Regions from separate parts of the Homo sapiens genome. Here all the other regions are linked to region 2. The links are contacts of gene promoters, found by promoter capture Hi-C in human tissues and cell types (Jung and others, 2019). All regions are on one chromosome and are shown on one strand. The core of a region is centred on a gene start or on the middle of the fragment in contact, and the rest is flanking DNA. Distances in the headings are between cores, read along the strand shown. Region 1 overlaps MAPK4 (mitogen-activated protein kinase 4). Region 2 holds the start of MAPK4 (mitogen-activated protein kinase 4). Region 3 has its middle 53 kb from the start of MRO.

Region 1 (2,700 bases), core at 146-2,645, 150 kb after region 2:
CTAAAAATACAAAAAAAAATTAGCCGGGCGTGGTGGCAGGCACCTGCAGTCCCGGCTACTCAGGAGGCTGAGGCAGGAGAATGGCGTGAACCCGGGAGGCGGAGCTTGCAGTGAGCAGAGATAGCGCCACTGCACGCCAGCCTGGGTGACAGAGTGAGACTCCGTCTCTAAATAAATAAATAAATAAATAAATAAATAAATAAATAAATAAATAAATTCATCATACCCCTAAGGGATTAGTAGGCACATTATCATTAAAGGGTGTAGTAGAAAGTTTATTGGATTGAGCCTTCTCCCCCAACCTTCCAACTCCCACACGCAAGAGATCAGGCAGTGGGGGCACAGCAAGGGCAGGCACAGGAGACTTGGCTCCAGATCAGAACTGGTGCCCACCCAGCACGGGCTTGCTGGAGCAGCTGGGAGTGCCCACCCTTCTGGAGTGACTTTGATCCAGGCTGTTCTGAATTCCCTGGCAGGCAGCTGGGATCGAGGGCTGCTTCCCTGCTCCCTCTGCAAAGAGAATGCTCAGAGCTTTAATTATACCTTCTCTCTATCCTTCAGGGGCCCCTAATTATGCTCCTCACAGGGCAGCTGCTGCTAGATTATTTCCCAAACACCTCTGAAGCTTTTAAAGTCAAAGCCTCCCATGGGCTCTGCGTGACTCTAAAGGGACAGCAAAATGGGTGGATGGGAGCAATAGCTGACGAAAGTCCCAAGGCCCCTTAAAAGGGTCTAGAAAGGAAACCATGTTCATCTGCCTCCCAGTGGGCACAAGGTGGCAGGAGGAAATAGACGATTAGGAAGGGGCCACTCCCATCTTGTTTCTTGTGCTCTGAGTGGTGGTCACAGAGAACTGTGGGAGTGTGCACTTCATGTCTTCTCAGAGCAGTGATGTTACAAAGCCTCACACAAGAGGCTGGCCCCAGCTGGCCTGCAACAGCCGCGTGCAGACGCACCCACTTGTGCGCCAAGTGTGCCTGCTGTCCTGCTCACTCCCTCCTTGGCCACCCTGTGCATGGGCATGCCCTGCCTGGGGAGACCAGGTCTGATCACAGAGACATGTTCCTCTCTACATCCAAAAGAAGCTGAAACTATCCTCACCCTGCAGGCTTGGGCAGAGGGCTATTTGGAGATTTTTTTTGAGCCAATATACTTATTGATTTATGAGCTCTTTTAATAAAATTGGGTCTCGACTTCTGGGTATTCTTTAAAGTTTTTTTTTTTTTTTTGTAGAAAATTATCCTGAATTTCACCCCATCCACTCGACTGCAACTCCTCTCTTGAATTCTGATCACCAGTACCATGTTGTGGGCCCCAGAGCCTCTCCCATTCGGACACCCAGGGCTCAGCTCAGCTGACAGCAGGGCCCTGGTCCACTGTGTCTGCCCCCAGACCTGGGAATGGAGCTTCCCATATATTCCCATCTCCCCTTCCTGGGGCTTCTCTTGCACCAGCTTGGCAGAAGACACTGCACCTTCCCAAATTCTTCTCAGCCTTGTGGCTTCTGAAACATATCAACAAATCCCCTTTAAGTGTCGGGCACAGTGGCTCATGCCTGTAATCCCAGCACTTCGAAAGGCCGAGGTAGGCAGACTGCGTGAGCTCAGGAGTTTGAGACTAGCTTGGGCAACATGACGAAACCCCATCTCTACAAAACATACAAAAATTAACTGGGTGTGTTGGTGTGCGCCTGTGGTCCCAGCTCCTTGGGAGGCTGAGGTGGGAGGGTCCCGTGAGCCTGGGAGGCAGAGGTTGTAGTGAGCCACTGTTGCGCCACTGCATGTCAGCCTGGGCGACAGAATGCGAGAACCTGTCTCAAAGAAAACAAAAACAAACAAAAAATCCACTTTATGTTTTTTTAAAGAGTGTGAAGAACAAGTAACCATAGGAAGATAGCTAGTAGTTAAAAATTCAGCAGGCTCTTGTTTTTCATTAAAAAAAAAAAAAGGAAGAGCTGGAAAGCAACTTTCTTAGCTCCTATCATGACCTGGTCTGTAATTCTGGCCCAAGGGCAGCCTTACCCATGTCAACATCTTTCTTTTACTTTCAGAGCAAGTGTTTCAGAAGAAAGCCCCCTGTCCCCACTGTTCTTTAACCCTAGACTCTGAGGAGAGGCAGATGTCAATTCCAGACCATTCTGTTTCATAAAAGACTGTGCATTTACATATCAGAGAAAACTCCCCTGAAGCTACCTCCCCTCTGGGTACTCTTGCTTTAGTCTTTTCCCTGACAATCTCACCCTCTGACTGAAAATAAAACCAGACTATTTTTTTAGAACCCACCCACCTAAAAATGAACTTCTACAGACAGTATTTGGCTTGTTCCTGTAACTTTTAGAATCGAACTTAAATTCCTAACAGCCTACTGTACACACACCATGGATGAGTCTCAGATGCATTGTGCTAAGTGAAGGAATTCAGACTCAAAAGGCTACATACTGTCATTCCATTTATACAGAAGGTAAAATTAGAGAGACAGAAAAGAGCAGTTGCTAGGGGCTGGGACTAGGGGTGACCAAAAGAGGGCATGAATAAATTGTTTGAGATGATGGAATTGTTACGTATCTTGATTGTGATGGTGGTGACATGACTATGCTTTTGTCAAAACTCACAGAACTGGTGAATTTTACCCTATGTAAATTATACTTCAATAAACTTGACTTTTAAAGCAATTAAACTCTTATAAAAATGACATTGGCCC
Region 2 (2,700 bases), core at 167-2,666:
AATGAAAATCAAGGAAGCAAAATGTTAAAATGTTCTCTTTGGGGAAGACACATTGGAATGTCTTACCACAGATATACACACACTCGCTTGTTACACACTCCTTCCTTATCCCTAACTATTCTCTGAGGTTAATGAAGGTCCTGATAACTGCAGTCTCTAACTTAGCATATCATCCTAAACCTACTACCTGCACACATAGGAGTCGCAGCGCAACTATGTACTAATGGCAGCCAACACTCATTACCCTTCATACCACCATCACTGTGCAAACCCTTAGTGCATTTTCCAATATGATCCCACAATCCTTCATTTTTATGTTTTGCCCACGCTAAAATTCGACAGCGAATTCTTGCAACAATTATTAAGCGTCTGGAATTGTATTAGGGTCTGGGGGTAGAGGTGGGGGACGAAGCGGGAATAACTGCAGTACACAGCAGACCCTATGAAAGTGCCAAAACGCAGGTCTCACTCGGAAGGCTTTGGGAGTTGGGAGAGGAGAAGGCTCATGGGCAGCTAAAGCCACCAGTGACCTCATTATGCAATATTTAGGTTATCAGACTTTTCTATGCCTAGAAAAGCAGCGCCTCAACCATTCCAACGGGACGCACCGCGTTCAGTGACGACCCTCATCGGTGCCCACAGCTCTGGGCTCGCTGAAGGCACCACAGAAGCACCAGTTATTACCAGTGTTAGGGTCCAGTGGCTTCTTCTGTCCCTTTCCTCTGGATCCCAAAGTGTTGGTTCTCTTTTGTTAGTTTTATTCCGGTCATGCCAATGAGCACAGATTCACAGCCCAGGCGGCCCGCTCGGAATCCCAGGCCGGCTGGGGACCGGTGCACTTGGGCTCCGCGCCCCCTCGACCCTCGGCCCAGTGCCCCTTCCCGCGCGCGCGGGTCTCCCCGGTTCCAGAGCCCACCGGTCCCCGCCGGCTCCTTCTCCCCACCCACCCTCCCACCGGGCCCCCGGCGGCTGCAGCCGCGCGGGGCTGGCGGGGCGGCGACCGGGCTCAGGCAGATCCCCGCTTCCCGCCTTCTCGGCGCCCCCTCCCTCCCGGACGGAGCCCGAGGATCCCCCACCCACGGCGGGCGTGAGGAAGGGCTTCTGAGTGACTGGAGCTCTACCGCGTGTGCCCCGGGAAGGCCAGGCTACCCGGGACGGGGCTCGGCTCCCCAGGTGAGCTCGTCTCCGCGGGACTGGGTCCGGGAAGGCCCCAGGACCGCGCGGCTGAGCGGCCTGGAGGCTGCGGGAGGGCAGAGCAGGGCGCGCGGGAGACTGCCGCCCCCGGGCGCCCAGGGCCCGGCTCCCCAGCGCCACCGCCGCAGCAGGTGGGGGCCCAGTGGGCGGGGGCGGGGCCCGGCTCTGGGCGGAGCCGAGGCGGCGGCGGCGCAGGCTGGGGCCGGGGCCGGGGCGGGAGCCGGAGCCCGAGCTGGAGCAGCGAGCCGGGCTGTCGGGGCGACCGCGGGAGCTCGCCGTGCGCCGTGGCTGGGACCGGCCTGGCCGAGCGCGCCGGCGCCGCGGCCGCAGACAAAGGGCGGCTCGCGCCCGGGCCGCCACGCTCTCGGGCTCTGCCTCGGTAAGTGGCTCCCCTCCGCTGGCTTTCTCCTCCCGCCGCCTGCGCCTCTCGGAGTTCGGCGGGCTCCGGAGAAGCGGGGAAGAGATGAGACTTCCCCGCCCGCACTGCCTCCCCACCTTACCCTAACAATAAGCCCCCCAGGCCAAGCCACTGCCAAACTAGCGAGTTTCCGAGCGGCGGGGGTCTCCCGCGGGACCCGCCCGGCTGCCCTGGGTGAGCTCCTCGCCTGCAGACCGCGCGCCGGTGCTGTCCTGGACCCGTTTGGGATGGGAGGTTGCCGCTGGGCTCCTCGCGTTGTGTTTAGGGGAGGAGGACGCAGGGGCCGGGCGCCGCTAGGGGACCCCACCCCCGGGGACAGTCCGGAGCGCTTGGGGTCGCCGAGGGGCAGTTCACACTGCGAGTTCAGATTCGGATCGCAGTCCCGATTATCCTCCCCTCCAGCCTCTCCCTTTCTCGTTGAAGGGTTAATACAGCGTCCTCTCCCCTCGCCACCCGACAGAGGCGCCTACACTGGCGGTAGGTAGCCCCTGGGAGAGGGGGAGTGGGGGGACCCCGCCGCTTTCGCCGCTGGGCGACCCAGAGCCCCAGCCTGCCGGAGAGGGCAGCGGCTCGGGTTTGACATCCCAGCTGGGTCCCGGGCCGGCTCCCTGAGCCTCCTCCCGGGTTGCTCTCTATCAGGAAAGCAATCGGAAGTCAGGCCGGCTTTTGCTTTTGTTCTGCCAGCTACTCTACGGAATCGTAGGTGAAGCCGGGGTGGGCGGATGCCCCGGGAGGGGGCTGTGGCGGGAGTTCCAGGTGCGTCCCCGAAATGACCATTGGAGGCGGCGGCTGTTTCCCGCCCCTGGGTGGGGAATGGATTCCGATCGCTAATCGATACCCTGGAGCCAGCAGTGGGTCAGCAGCGTCCCGACAGAGCGCAGCGGCCGCGTACTGTCACGCGCCTCTCCAGCACTCTCGAAAGCACTACCTCGAGACGTGCATTTCCATTCATGGATCTGTGCCTGGGGGTTGATTAATGTCACCCCTGCCTGGGTTGAGGAGTGTCCACAACTGCTCAGTAGCCATTTACTGGGAGGTTACTGTGTGCAAGGCAGCTATCTTAAATAACCTTAATGTAAAATATACTT
Region 3 (2,700 bases), core at 75-2,574, 210 kb after region 2:
AAGCAAGCACATCTTCACATGGCAGCAGGAGAGAGAGTGTGTGAAGGAGAAAGTCCCACACACTTTTAAACCATCAGATCTTGTGAGATCTCACTATCACAAGAACAACAAGGGAGAAATCATCCCCCACAATCCAATCGCCCCACCCCCACCAGGTACCTCCCCCAACACTGGGAATTACAATTCAACATGAGATTTCGGTGGGAACACAGAGCCAAATCATATCATTCCCCAAAAGAAAGCACCTAAAGGTTCAACAAGTTGATTCATCCACCTCCAAATCCAGCATCTCTGAAAGATGAATAATTCCCCGATAGGCTTTGGCTAAAAAGGTCAGTGATTGAAGGCTGGAAAGTAAGTCAAGTACTTGAGCATGCCCAGCATGCTCATGTGAGGAGAACAGGATAATGACAATTCAAACTCCAGTTTGAGAAAGGGAGAATGGGAAACCACACGTGGTAGTCACTGGAATAGAAATAGCAGGAACTCCTGCTACGATTTGACTGTGCCTCCAAAATTCATGTGTTGGAAACTTAATCACCAATGTAGCAGTTATAGAAGATGAAGCTTTGAAGCTTTTTGAAAGGTGTTTAAGTCATGAGGACAGAGTCCTCATGAAAGGATTAATGCTGCTATAAAAAGGGCTTGCAAGAGTAGGTTTGCTCTCTTCTGTTCTTCTGCCATGCAAGGACATAAAGTTCATCCCTTTTTGCCCTTCTGGTTTCTATTATGTGACGGTGCAGCAAGAAGGTCCTCACTAGATACCAAATGCCAGAAACTTGATCTTAGACTTCTCAGCCTCCAGAACTCCAGGTTTAACATTCTATTCTCTGTAAGCAACTTAAAGATTGACCTAGGAATTATCTGCCAACTCTGTAATATTTTCTGGCAATAAAGTTTCCTTTAAATTTAATAGGCTTCAGGGGCCAAAGCACACACTTCCCAGAGTCTGAGAGCCACCTCCCTGGGACCACTCCCACTGACAGCAACCCCAACCCCCAACCCCAGCATCAGGGCTGCAGTGTGTGTGCACATATGCTGAAGACAGACTCTCCCAGTCCACCATCATGGCTGCCACCACCACCTGAATGTGCTACTAGGGAGCCTGGGGATTGCCCCACCCTGCCCACCACAGCCTGTGCCCATGCACCCCACTAGAAGGCCAGATGACAGGCCTAGGTGGCCTAGCACCAGCCACCCCCCACCTTTTGCCCAATCATGATGCCCAGAAGCCTGAGGATCATCATATCCCACCCCCCACTGCTGGCATCTATGCACTTCTCCCAGGGGCCAGAAGACAGGCCCACCCAGCCTGTTGCTACCATCACCACCAGCGCCCACCCATATGCACCACATGGGAACCTGGGGACTGGCGTGCACAGCCCATCACAGCCACTGCTAACAACAGCACATGCTGGTTTGGAGCCCAAAGGTTGTCCCACGAACACTACTGCCATTGCTCATCCCACACATCCTATCCAGAGGACTAAGGAATAACCTACTTGCCCAGCCCACCACTGCCATAGCCAGCACCTGAACAATCCACCTGGAGGCCTAAGAATCAGCCCACCTGGACCTGCTAACACCAATGTTAGCAGTGTTAACACTATGTATACCTCCCAGGGGCCCAAAGACAGGCAACCTCAGCCGGCCACTATGACCACTGGGACCTGAGAACTGGCCACCATCCCTGTCCCCAGCAAAACCTCACCATACCTTCCACTAAAAACTGCAACCTAAGCCACTGAGGAAATAACAGACACTACTGATGCTGTTTACAGCTGAAGAAATTGTACAGAGACAACACTACTATGCACACCCAGAATCAAAGCTAAAATGCCCTCCTGACCAACACCATAGATACAGCTTTAGGAAAATGTATTCCCCTATGAAAGCCAATCCAAAAAATTGGAAGAAGAGACTGTTACACCAGATGCACAGGTACTGTAATAAGAGAAATCGAAAAGCAAGGAAATATGACACCTCCAAAGTACCACAATAATTCTCCAGCAACAGATTCCAATGAAAAAGAAATGTATGAAATGCTGGGAAAATAATTCAAAGTAATGATATTAAAGAAGCTCAGTGAGGCCAGACACAGTGTCTCATGCCTGTAATCCTGGCACTTTGGGAGGCCGAGGCAGGAGGATTGCTTGAGCCCAGGAGTTTAAGAGACCAGCCAGGGCAACATAGTGAAACTTTGTCTCTATTAAAAAAAAAAAAAATTTAAAAAATTAGCCAGGCATGGTGGCACACACCTGCTGTCCCAGCTACTTGGGAGGCTGAGGTGGGAGGATCACTTGAGCCCAGGAGGTTGAGGCTACAGTGAGCCATGATCATGCCACTGCACTCCAGCCTGGGTGACAGAGTGAGAGCCTATCTAGAAGCAGCAGCAGCAGCAGCTCAGTGAGATATACAAGAACACAGATAAATGATACAAAGAAATCAGAAAATTCAGGATATGAATGAAAATTTACCAAAATGATAGATATTATAAAAAAGAATCAAAAAGAAATCCTAGAACTAAAGAATTCAAAGATAAAAACTAAAATACATTTGGAACTTCTGATATATACTAGATTAAGCAGAAGAAAGAATTTCAGAACTTGAAGACAGTTCTTTTTAAATAACCCAGACAAGAAAAAGAGAATAAAGAGTAAAAAAGAATAAACAAAGCCTACATGACATATAGTACACCAT

Evidence for each region. Contacts are between HindIII fragments. The study calls those that stand out against the background at their distance.
Region 1: a fragment that was not itself captured here is called in contact with the fragment with the promoter of MAPK4 in region 2 in 1 of the 25 tissues and cell types used here (lymphoblastoid cells).
Region 3: a fragment that was not itself captured here is called in contact with the fragment with the promoter of MAPK4 in region 2 in 3 of the 25 tissues and cell types used here (H1 embryonic stem cells, dorsolateral prefrontal cortex and heart left ventricle).

The regions. Positions count from the first base shown.
Region 1 is chr18:50,710,612-50,713,311 of GRCh38, forward strand. The region is part of intron 2 of MAPK4 (mitogen-activated protein kinase 4); the gene reads left to right. Among named protein-coding and RNA genes, the nearest start is that of MRO, 110 kb to the right of the region's middle. The HindIII fragment of the contact is 8,453 bases long and covers 1-2,700 here.
Region 2 is chr18:50,558,671-50,561,370 of GRCh38, forward strand. MAPK4 (mitogen-activated protein kinase 4) reads left to right here and starts at 1,417. Exons shown (of 6, transcript NM_002747.4): 1 at 1,417-1,573. The HindIII fragment of the contact is 20,188 bases long and covers 1-2,700 here.
Region 3 is chr18:50,766,151-50,768,850 of GRCh38, forward strand. No RefSeq gene overlaps it. Among named protein-coding and RNA genes, the nearest start is that of MRO, 53 kb to the right of the region's middle. The HindIII fragment of the contact is 5,709 bases long and covers 1-2,700 here.